Linked DNA regions of Homo sapiens: region 2 is linked to region 1. Evidence: promoter capture Hi-C in 16 types of primary human blood cells and fetal thymus (Javierre and others, 2016). All regions are on one chromosome and are shown on one strand. Each heading gives the region's core, a stretch centred on a gene start or on the middle of the fragment in contact. The rest is flanking DNA. Distances are from core to core; before and after follow the strand shown.

Region 1 (5,884 bases), core at 2,505-5,004:
CCCTTCCCCTCCCCTCCCCCCTTCCCCTCCCCTCTCCTCCCCACTTCCCCTCCCCTCTCCTCCCCCCTTCCCCTCCCCTCTCCTCCCCCCTTCCCCTGCCCTCTCCTCCCCCTCTTCCCCTGCCCTCTCCTCCCCCCCTTCCCCTCCCCTCTCCTCCCTTCCTTTCCCCTCCTCTTCCATTCCCTTCTTTCCTCCCATCCCCTCCTCCCTTCCCCTCCCTTCCCCTCCCTTCCCCTCCCTTCCCCTGCCCTCCCCTCCCCTCCCCTTCCTTCTCCTCCCCTCCCCTCCCTTCCCCTCCCCCCTCCCCTTTCCTCTGCTCCCTTCCCCTCCCCTCTCCTCCCCCCTTCCCCGCCCCTTCCCTTCCCTTCTTTCCTCCCATCCCCTCCTCCCCTCCCTTCCCCTCCCCTCCCTTCCCCTCCCCTCCTTTCCCCTCTCCTCCCCTCCCCTCCTTTCCCTCCCCCTCCCCTCCTCTCCCTTCCCCTCCCCTCCTCTCCCTTCCCCTCCCTTCCCCTCCCCTCCCCTCCTTTCCCTTCCCCTCCCCTCCTCTCCCTTCCCCTCCCCCCCTCCCCTCCCTTCGCTTCCCCTCCCCTCCCCTCCCCTCCCTTCCCCTCCCCCCTCCCCTCCCTTCCCCTCCCCCCTCCCCTTTCCTCCACTCCCTTCCCCTCCCCTCTCCTCCCCCCTTCCCCTCCCCTTCCCTTCCCTTCTTTCCTCCCATCCCCTCCTCCCCTCCCCTCCCTTCCCCTCCCCTCCCTTCCCCTCCCCTCCCCTCCTTTCCCCTCTCCTCCCCTCCCCTCCTTTCCCTTCCCCTCCCCTCCTCTCCCTTCCCCTCCCCTCCTCTCCCTTCCCCTCCCTTCCCCTCCCCTCCCCTCCCCTCCTTTCCCTTCCCCTCCCCTCCTCTCCCTTCCCCTCCCCTCCTCTCCCTTCCCCTCCCCCTCCCCTCCCTTCCCTTCCCCTCCCCTCTCCTCCCCCTTCGCCTCCCCTCCCCTCCCTTCCCTTCCCCTCCCCTCCCTTCCCCTCCCCCTCCCCTTTCCTCCACTCCCTTCCCCTCCCCTCTCCTCCCCCCTTCCCCTCCCCTTCCCTTCCCTTCTTTCCTCCTATCCCCTCCTCCCCTCCCCTCCCTTCCCCTCCCCCCTCCCCTTTCCTCCGCTCCCTTCCCCTCCCCTCTCCTCCCCCCTTCCCCTCCCCTTCCCTTCCCTTCTTTCCTCCCATCCCCTCCTCCCCTCCCCTCCCTTCCCCTCCCCTCCCTTCCCCTCCCCTCCCCTCCTTTCCCTTCCCCTCCCCTCCTCTCCCTTCCCCTCCCCTCCTCTCCCTTCCCCTCCCTTCCCCTCCATTCCCCTCCCTTCCCCTCCATTCCCCTCCCTTCCCCTCCCCTCCTCTCCCTTCCCCTCCCTTCCCCTCCATTCCCCTCCCTTCCCCTCCCCTCCCCTTCTTTTGAGATGGAGTCTTCCTCTTGTCATCCAGGCTGGAGTGCAATGGCGCAATCTTGGCTCATTGCGACCTCCACCTCCCGGGTTCAAGCAATTCTCCTGCCTCAGCCTCCTGAATAGCTGGGATTACAGGTGCGCACCACCACGCCCAGCTAATTTTTGTATTTTTAGTAAAGACAGGGTTTCACCATGTTGGCCACAATTGTCTCAAACTCCTGACCTCAGGTGATCCACCCGCCTCGGCTTCCCAAAGTGCTGGGATTACAGGCATGAGCCACTGTACCCGGCCTAAATCACAGACTTTTATGTCTCACGGTTCTGGAGGCTGAGAGTCCAAGATCAATGAGTGGGAGGTTCAGTGTCTAGTGAGGACCCGCTTGCTGGTTCACAGGTGGTTCCTTCTGGCTGTGTCCTCACATGGTGGAAGGGGTGAGAGAGCTCTCTGGGGCCTGTCTTCTAAGAGCACAAATCCCACTCATGACCTAACCACCTCCTAAAAGCACCACCTCTAATACTCTTGCAGTGGGAACTGAGTTTGAACTTGAGTTTTGGAAGGACAGAAACATGGAAGGCATAGCAACCCTCTTACACAGCCCGGCCCCTCTGAAGCCTGCCTGGGTTCACAGAATGTTCCGTCTTCCTCAGGCCCCTGGTGTGTTGGCTTTCTCCTTTGTTGATAGCTGATGTTGAGCAATGCAAGATTTCTGTTCTGATTATCTGACCCTGGATATCCAGTTTGGGGACTTGTGACATATTTGGGACGTCAGAAGCACGTACCTCTCACATAGAGCATGGCATACTTAATAAACAATAAATTATAATAAAAAATGAATAATGCATTATAAATTATCATTACTTATTTATTTATTTATTGGAGACAGAGTCTCGCTCTGTTGCCCAGGATGGAGTGCAGTGGCGCCATCTTCGCTCACTGCAACCTCTGCCTCCTGGGTTCAAGTGATTCTCGGGCCTGCCTCAGCCTCCTGAGTAGCTGGGACTATAGGCAACCACCTCCACACCCGGCTAGTTTTTTGTCTTTTTAGTAGAGACGGGGTTTCACCATGCTGGCCAGGCTGGTCTTTTTTTTGTTTTGTTTTGACATGGAGTCTCGCTCTGTCAACCAGGCTGGAGTGCAGTGGCACGGTCTCACTGCAAGCCCCACCTCCCAGGTTCACGCCATTCTCCTGCCACAGCCTCCCGAGTAGCTGGTAGCTGGGACTACAGGTGCCCACCACCACGCCCGGCTGATTATTTTTTGTATTTTAGTAAAGACGGGGTTTCATCGTGTTAGCCAGGATGGTCTCGATCTCCTGACCTCATCATCCGCACATCTCGGCCTCCCAAAGTGCTGGGATTACAGGCATGAGCCACCGGGCCCGGCCCCAGGCTGGTCTTGAACTCCTGACCTTGTGATCTGCCCGCCTTGGCCCTCCAAAGTGCTGGCATTACAGACGTGAGCCACCGCACCTGGCCTCATTTATTATTTTGTAATCACATTATAAATTGTCATTTATTATTTCATAATTACATTATAAATGATCATTTCAGAATTACATTATATATTTTCATTTATTTCATAATTACACTATAGATTATCATTTATTATTCCAAAATTACATTATAAATTATGATTATATTATACAATAGCATTTGCTTCATAATTACATTAGATTATCATTTATTTTTAAATTACATTATATTTATTTCATAATTACATTATAAATTATCTTATAATTAGAAATGATCATTTATTTCATAATTGCAATATAAATTATTATTAATTTCATAATACCATTGTAAGTTATCATTTATTATTTCATAATTACATTATGTAATGGTATGCGTTAATAATTATTAATATACAATTAATAATTATTAACCATTCAATTAATAGTTAATTAACTAGCAATTTATATGTAATTCTATAATTACGTCATAGAATATGATATCTAATTTATACATAAATTATATTATTCAAGTATATTACCCATAATTTGCAAGTATAGTATAGAATCCCGTTATAGGATCCTATTACATTTTAGAATTTTGTTATATATATTTGACTCTACAATTGGAATTTAGACCCCACACCGGCCCCCCTCCTGTTTGGCTTAAGGGCTATGACCACAGACCCTGGCCCAAGTACCTCCCCTGGTTACCCGCAGGCAGGTGGCACCATGGGGGCGGGGCGGACTCGCGCACGCGCAGTGCAAAAGGTCGGGCTCCCGGAAGTCCCTCCTCCCGGGGGCGGAGCCAGGGCAAGAAGGAGAAACCCGGTGCTGCCGCGCGGCCTCTTCCGCGAGCCCGCGCGCCGGAAGTGGAAATGCGTCATAGAGGGCGGGCGGCGACGGCGGTGGCGGCGTCGGAGGCGCCTCCGGGGGACGGTGGCGGCTCCCGGCGGTGAGGCCGCGCCTGTCCGGGGATCGTCGAGGGACGGCGGGAGCTTGGGCCAGCGGCGGCGGCGGCCTGGGACGCAGGCGGAGCCCCGCGCAGGTGAGTGCCGCCCCCGTGCCTCCCGGGCCTGGCTGCAGCCGGCGAACGCTTCGCTCCTAGGGCCGGGCCCGGGGGGCCGGGGCTTGGGAGGCGGCGCCTAGGGGCCTCGGAGGTGACGGGGCTGGGGTTGGGGGGCGTGGGGTGCCACCGGGGGGCTGGGAGCGCCTGAAACTGTACGGGGGAATCGGGGGCTGGGGAGGTCTGCGGTCGGGGTCCGGGGGTCCCTGGAAGTAGGGGTAGGGGCTGGAGCGGTTCCTGGGACTGCACCGAAGGAGCTGAGGCCTGGAGCGGTGTCGGAGGGCTGGGAGCTCGGGGGATCGGATGGGCGGGAGACTAGGAGGCCTGGGACTAGGGGACGTGGCGCTGCGGTCGCTCCTAGGTCTACAGTGGGAAGCAAGGGGCTGTCCGGGGTTTTCGGAGGCTGGGGCGGTGCTGTGTAGGTTGGGGTATTGGGGCTCATCCAGGAGGGTGGTGGGGAGCGGGGAACTGAGGAGCTGAGGGTACCGAGTGGCCAAGGGCCTGAGAATGTGTGGGGCCCTGCCAGGGGTGCCAGCGGCAGCCTGAGGCCATGCTGGGGGGCTGCGGTAGGTGGGAATACCAGGGGCAATGCCGCGTACTGGGGATTGGGCAGCCAGGTGTACCGGGGTGGTCGGAGGGCGCTGGAGGCCAGAGTGGGGAGGGTTCCTCGGTGGTGAAGTTGCTGGGGCCGCTTGGGTTCTGGGGGAGGGTTCACTGGTCTCTGTCCAGACTGGAGCCCCTCCCTGGTGCCCCACTGACCTTTTCTGGTCGCTTCTCCACCCTCCCTCCCTTCTTTCGCACCTCCCACCTCGGGCTTGGGCGAGGAGGCCGTCTCCTGGGCCTGGCAGGAAGCCTCCAGGTTGATGGGGTGGGCGGCCGGGCCGGAGGCGGTCACCTGAGATGGTTGGGTTTCTGCGAGTGAAGCTTCCTCTACTTGGACTTGGCCGTCAGGAAGTGGCTGCCCGTCAGCTCAGCAGGGAAGAGGTGGGTTAATGAAGGTGGGCGGAGAAAGAAGGCGCAGACGGGGGACTCCGGCCCCTAACTTGTGGAAAGTTCGTTGTACTTTTTGGCTTTGAGTGGGTTAAAGCTGGGATACGTTTGGCCTTCGTGGAGATTACTAGGGTTCATGGTTCTGGATTGTTGTTGCAGCCCGAGACTTCCTGTTTTATCAGGGCAAGTACAGGGCCGCCGCCCCCTCCACAAAACCTTTCCAGATGCCTGCAGCTGTGCTCTCCCTGGCCCCTTCCCTTCCCCAGTGTCTCTCTGCCCCTTCCCGTGGAGCTAGGCGTTTGTAGCGTCCCCGTTCCTACTTGACCTGTGTGAGGGGCCTGGTCGTGCTCAGCTTCCTATTCTGCAGGCCTTGGGAGCTGCTGGCTGCTGGATGTAGGGTGTCGGGCAGTGCTGACCGAGGCTTTGACACTAACCTGTTCTTTATCAGCTCGGCTCTTTCCCCTTTGGTGTACTCTTAATGATTTCAAAAAGTAAAGAACTCCGTTGAGATGGCTGTTAACAAAGTGGAAACCGGTCTCTGACACGGCAGAGAGACACTGCTGTTTCTCTTCTCCGGGTCCAGAAAGTGCCTGCTGGCTTGGCCCCTCCTCATTGGCGGGGGAGGTGGGGGGTGCTGGTGCTGACTGTCTGCGTCTTATGTTTCAGGCCCAAGGTCCCGGAGGCTATGGCAGCGGCTACCATCGTGCACGACACGTCTGAGGCCGTGGAGCTCTGCCCTGCTTACGGCTTGTACCTGAAGCCCATCACCAAGATGACCATCAGCGTGGCACTCCCGCAGCTGAAGCAGCCGGGGAAGTCCATCTCCAACTGGGAGGTGATGGAGAGGCTGAAGGGCATGGTGCAGAACCACCAGTTCTCCACGCTGCGTATTTCCAAGAGCACCATGGACTTCATCCGCTTCGAGGGGGAGGTGGAGAACAAGAGCCTGGTCAAGT
Region 2 (5,884 bases), core at 1,235-3,734, 360 kb before region 1:
CCATTTTCCTACCCTTGATTTACCATCAACTGCCTTTTTTTTTTTTTTTTTTGGAAAAGTGTGGAGTTATTCCAAAGAAAACCTCCTATAGGTAATGTGTAAACATCGTGACCAGAAATCCTGGAGATCCACGAAGGCAACTACAAAGACTATGAAGGGAAACTACAGAAGTGGTTTTCTTAAAAAAATATACAGGCTATTTTTAGAGTGTTTTTAGGTTTAGAGCAAAATTTGCAGAAAGTACAGAAAGTTCTTATATATCCTCTCCCCAGCTCACAGCTTCGTCTATGGTGAACACCCTGCCTCAGCTTGGTGTGTTTGTTACAATCCATGAACTAATACTGATATATTATGAACAGAATAGTCAATAACAGTTCACATTAGAGTTCTTTTTTTTGAGACAGAGTCTCACTCTGTCGCCCAGGCTGGAGTGCAGTGGCGCGATCTCAGCTCACTGCAACCTCCGCCTCCTGGGTTCACGCCATTCTCCTGCCTCAGCCTCCCGAGTAGCTGGGACTACAGGCACCCTCCACCACGCCCGGCTAATTTTTGTATTTTTACTAGAGACGGGGTTTCACCATGTTGGTCAGGCTGGTCTCGAACTCCTGACCTCAGGTGATCCGCCCGCCTCAGCCTCCCAGTGCTGGGATGACAGGTGTGAGCCACCACTCCCAGCCCATGTTAGAGTTCTTTGTTGCTGTTGGCCGGGCGCGGTGGCTCACGCCTGTCATCCCAGCACTTAGGGAGGCCGAGACGGGTATATCACCAGGTCAGGAGATTGAGACCATCCTGGCTAACATGGTGAAACCCCATCTCTACTAAAAATACAAAAATAATTAGCCGGGCGTGGTGGCGGGCGCCTGTAGTCTCAGCTACTCGGGAGGCTGAGGCAGGAGAATGGCGTGAACCTGGGAGGTGGAGTTTGCAGTGAGCTGAGATCGCGCCACTGCACTCCAGCCTGGGCGATAGAGCGAGCCTCCATCTCAAAAAAAAAAGAGTTCTTTGTTGCTGTTGTAAGTTCTGTGCGTTTGGACAAACATATAGTGACGTTGGATGGACCATTATACGATCAAATGGAGGAGTTTCACTGCTCTAAAAATCCCCTGAGTTCTACCTGTTCATTCCTCCCTGCCTGACACCTCTGGCCACCCCTGATCATCTTACTGTCTGCATAAGTTTGCTTTCTTTTTCTTTTCTTTTCTTTTCTTTTTTTTTTTTGACACAGAGTCTCACTCTGTCTCCCACGTTGGAGTGCAGTCGCGTGATCTGGGTTCACTGCAAGCTTTGCCTCCCAGGTTCAAGCGATTCTCCTGCCTCAGCCTCCCGAGTAGCTGAGATGACAGGTGCCCGCCACCAAGCCCGGCTGATTTTGTGTTTTCTGTAGAGACGAGGTTTCCCCATGTCGGCCAGGCTGGTCTTGAACTCCCGACTTCAGGTGATCCACCCACCTCGGCCTCCCAAAGTGTTGGGATGACAGGCGTGAGCCACCGTGCCCGGACAGTTTTGCCTTTTCTAGAATGTCTTATAGTTGCAGCCATAGTCTGTAGCCATCTCAGACTGACTTTCTTTTTTCATTCAATGGTTTTTTGTTTGTTTGTCTTTTTGTTTGTAGAGAAGTTCAGGTTTAAAGAAAAACTGAGCAGGGGCCGGGCGTGGCGGCTCACGCCTGTGATCCCAGGACTTTGGGAGGCCGAGGCAGGTGGATCACCTGAGGTCAGGAGTTGGAGACCAGCCTGGCCAAAATCACTAAGCTAAAGAGAAAATTCAAGCTAGGAGGTGCTCAGGGCAAATCTGCCTCCGTTTCTATAAAAAGTCAACCCTGTGGTCATGGAGATAGATGCATATTCTGATTGCCTGCTTTCGAGAGGCTTATCAGAAACTCAGAGGAATACAGCCATCGGTCTCTCACCTACCTCGGACCTGGGAGCCCCCTGCTTGCTTTAAGTCATCCCTGCCTTTCTGCACAGAACCAGTGTACTTCTTACATATATTAATTCACATCTCATGTCTCCTTAAAATGCATAAAACAAAGGCCGGGCGCGGAGGCTCACGCCTGTCATCCCAGCACTTTGGGAGGCCGAGGCGGGTGGGTCACCTAAGGTTAGGAGTTCAAGACCAGCCTGGCCAACATGGTGAAACCCTGTCTCTACTAAAAATACAAAAAAAAAAAAAAAAATTAGCCAAATGTAGTGGCAGGTGCCTGTAATCCCAGCTACTCGGGAGGCTGAGGCAGGAGAATCGCCTGAACCCAGAAGGCGGAGGTCGCAGTGAGCCGAGACCGCGGCACTGCACTCCAGCCTGGGTGACAGAGTGAGACTCCGTCTCAAAAAAAAAAAAAAAATGCATACAATGAACTGGGCGCAGTGGCCCACGCCTGTCATCCCAGCGCTTTGGAAGGTTGAGCCAGGCAGATCACCTGAGGTCAAGAGTTTGAGAACAGCCTGGTCAACAGTGTGAACCTAGTGTCTACTAAAAATACAAAAACTAGCCAAAAGTGGTGGCGGGCGCCTGTAGTCCCAGCTACTCGGGAGGCTGAGGCAGGAGAATCGCTTGAACCCTGGAGGCGGAGGTTGCAGTGAGCGGAGATCACGCCACTGCACTCCAGCCTGGGCGACAGAGAGAGACAACATCTCAAAAAAGAAAAAAGTATAAAACCAAGCTGTAAGGCCGGGCCTGATGGCTCATGCCTGTAATCCCAGCACTTCGGGAGGCCGAGGTGGGTGGATCACCTGAGGTCAGGAGTTCGAGACCAGCCTGGCCAACATAGTGAGACCCTATCTCTACTAATAATACAAAAATTAGCCAGGCGTGGTGGTGCATGCCTGTAATCCCAGCTACTCAAGAGGCTGAGGCAGGAGAATCGCTTGAACCCAGGAGGCAGAGGTTGCAGTGAGCCGAGATCATGTCACTGCACTCTAGCCTGGGCAACAGGGTGAGACTCTGTCTCAGGAAAAAAAAAAAAAAAAAATGGCCAAGTGCAGTGGCTCCAGCCTGTAATCCCAGCACTTTGGGAGCCCAAGGCGGGTGGACTGCGTGATGTCAGGAGTTCAAGACCATCCTGGCTAACACGGTGAATCCCCGTCTCTACGAAAATACAAAAAATTAGCCGGGCATGGTGATGTGCGCCTGTGGTCCCAGCTACTCGGGAGGCTGAGGCAGGAGAATCGCTTGAACCCGGGAGGCGGAGGTTGCAGTGAGCTGAGATCGTGTCACTGCACTCCAGCCTGGGCAACACGGTGAGACTCCGTCTCAAAAAAAAAAAAAAAAAAATCAGCCGGGCGTGGGTGCCTCTCACCTGTAATCCCAGCACTTTGGGAGGCCGAGGCGGGCGGATCACCTGAGGTCAGGAGTTGGAGACCAGCCTGGCCAACATGGCGAAATCCCGTCTCTACTAAAAATACAAAAATTAGCTGGGGTGTTGTGGCAGGTGCCTGTAGTCTCAGCTCCTTGGGAGGCTGAGGCAGGAGAATTGCTTGAACCCGGGAGGTGGAGGTTGCAGTGAGCTGAGATCATGTCACTGTGTTCCAGCCTGGGTAACAGGGTGAGACTCCATCTCAAAAAAAAACAAAACAAACAAACAAAAAAAAAACCAAAAAACCAAAACAAGCTGTACCCGAAGCATGGGCACGTGTCATCAGGACCTCATGAGGCTGTGTCACGGAAACACATCCTCAGCCTTGGCAAAAGAAGCTTTCGAAGTTAAATGAGACCTGTCTCAAATTTTAGGACTTCAAATTTTTATGTATGAATTAGAATGAATAAATACATTTCCTAATGAGATAGAATGAAAGAGAAGGCCTCCTTCTGTGTGGCAGGTCTGCGAAAGTCTCTCTGATCTGAATTGCAAACCGTTTCTTGCAGTTCCTTCTGCTTTGTGATAAAAATCAACGGTTGCAGAGATCAAGGGGCTCAGAACATTGCGTGTGGCTCAGCGCTGGGCTTGCATCTTGAGATGTATGGCTTTATTCGCTCCCTACTACAGACTTGTCAGGGAGACCTGAATCTGTGACTGTATTTTCTTTTTTTCGGGACGGACTCTCGCTCTGTCGCCCAGGCTGGAGTGCAGGGGCGCGATCTCAGCTCACTGCAACCTCCACCTCCCGGGTTCAAGCAACTCTCCTGCCTCAGCCTCCCGAGTAGCTGGGATTACAGGTGCATACCCACACACCCAGCTAATTTTTTATATTTTTAGTAGAGACGGGGTTTCACCATGTTGGCCAGGCTGGTCTCAAACTCCTGACCTCGTGATCCGCCCGCCTCGGCCTCCCAAAGTCCTGGGATTACAGGCGTGAGTCACTGCGCCCGGCCGATCCGTGCCTGCATTACAAACGTGTGATCTAAACACCAGCGAGGTGAAATGTCCAAGATAAGAGGCAACCACTGGCCAGGTGCTTTGTGTGAGCAAAATAAAGCTGTTTGTTCACTCGGGTGCAAGTAGGCTGAGTCCGAAGAGACGGTCAGCGAAGGGAGATGGGGAAGTTGTGGCTTTATAGGAGTTGGGTAGGTAATGGAAAATTACAGCAAAACGTGGTTCTCTATTGTTAGCACGGGAGGGGGTTTGCAAGGGGCATGGTGAATGAGAAGGGAAGGGATAGTATAACATTATTGATAAACTACGCTAGACGCCAAGGCTCATGCGTGTAATCCCAGCACTTTGGGAGGCCGAGGCGGGCTGATCACGAGGCCAGGAGATCGAGACCAGCCTGGCCAACATAGTGAAACCCCGTGTCCGCTAAAAATACAAAAATTAGCCGGGCGTGGTGGTGGGTGCCTGTATTCCCAGCTACTCAGGAGGCTGAGGCAGGAGAATCACTTGAACCCAGGAGGCAGAGGTTGCAGTGAGCCGGGATTGCACCATTGCACTCCATCCTCGGTGAAAGAGCAAAACTCCGTCAGAAAAAAAAAAGAAGGAAGGGAGGGAGGGAGGGAAGGAAGGAAGGAAAGAAGGAAGGAAGGAAGGAAGGAAAAGATGCAACCACCATTGGATAAAGAAAATGCGGTACATTAGAGGCCGGGTGCAGTGGCTCACACCTGTAATCCCAGCATTTTGGGAGGACGAGATGGGTGGATCACCAGGTCAGGAGATCGAGACCATCCTGGGTAACAGGAGACCAGCCTGGCTAACACGGTGAAACCCCGTCTCTACTAAAAATACAAAAAATCAGCCCGGCGTGGTGGCGGACGCCTGTCGTCCCAGCTACTCGGGAGGCTGAGGCAGGAGAATGGTGTGAACCCGGGAGGCGGAGCTTGCGGTGAGCCCAGATCGCGCCACCGCAGTCCAGCCTGGGGGACAGAGCGCCAAAAAAAAAAAAAAAAGGAAAGAAAAAAAGAAAATGTGGTACATTAGGCTGGGAATGGTGGCACGCACCTGTAGTCCCACCTACTCGGGAGGCTGAGACAGGAGAATCTCTTGAACCCGGGAGGTGGAGGTTGCACTGAGCCGAGATCGCACCACTGCACTCCAGCCTGGGCGAAAGAGTGAGATACTGTCAAAAAGAAAAAAAAAAAAAAAAAAACAGAAAAGAAGAAGGTGGTACATTGACACCGAGGACTAAGATCTGATTCTTTATCTTGCCCAAGTTCCTGTGTAATCAGGAGTCACGCCTTACAAATCATAAGTTTTCATTCAGTGGGTTTTATTTATCGCTATATATCATGACTTACTTTACGGTCGGGCTGTGGTATCACATTATGTGACAAAGAAGCAAGGCAAAATATTTTGCCCCCAAACATGTTCCTTTGCTATATTTGGAAATGGCCCCGCAGAGCTGTCCTTTGTGGGGGGAAACTGGCATCTGTAAAGAATCTCTTTTGACGTAGTTAGATCTTTTTCTTCCAGGCCCTCCCAATCCTGAAGACATTAGCGGAGAGTCTAGCAGCTTTT

What was found. Contacts are between HindIII fragments. The CHiCAGO score rates a contact against its expected background, and 5 or more counts as called.
Region 2: a fragment that was not itself captured here is called in contact with the fragment with the promoter of AKAP17A in region 1 in 1 of 17 cell types (neutrophils); the score reaches 6.4 in neutrophils.

What each region holds. Positions count from the first base shown.
Region 1 is chrX:1,587,850-1,593,733 of GRCh38, forward strand. AKAP17A (A-kinase anchoring protein 17A) reads left to right here and starts at 3,755. Exons shown (of 5, transcript NM_005088.3): 1 at 3,755-3,920; 2 at 5,595-5,884. The coding sequence starts at 5,614. The HindIII fragment of the contact is 17,990 bases long and covers 1-4,860 here.
Region 2 is chrX:1,228,405-1,234,288 of GRCh38, forward strand. No RefSeq gene overlaps it. Among named protein-coding and RNA genes, the nearest start is that of CRLF2, 19 kb to the left of the region's middle. The HindIII fragment of the contact is 2,408 bases long and covers 1,281-3,688 here.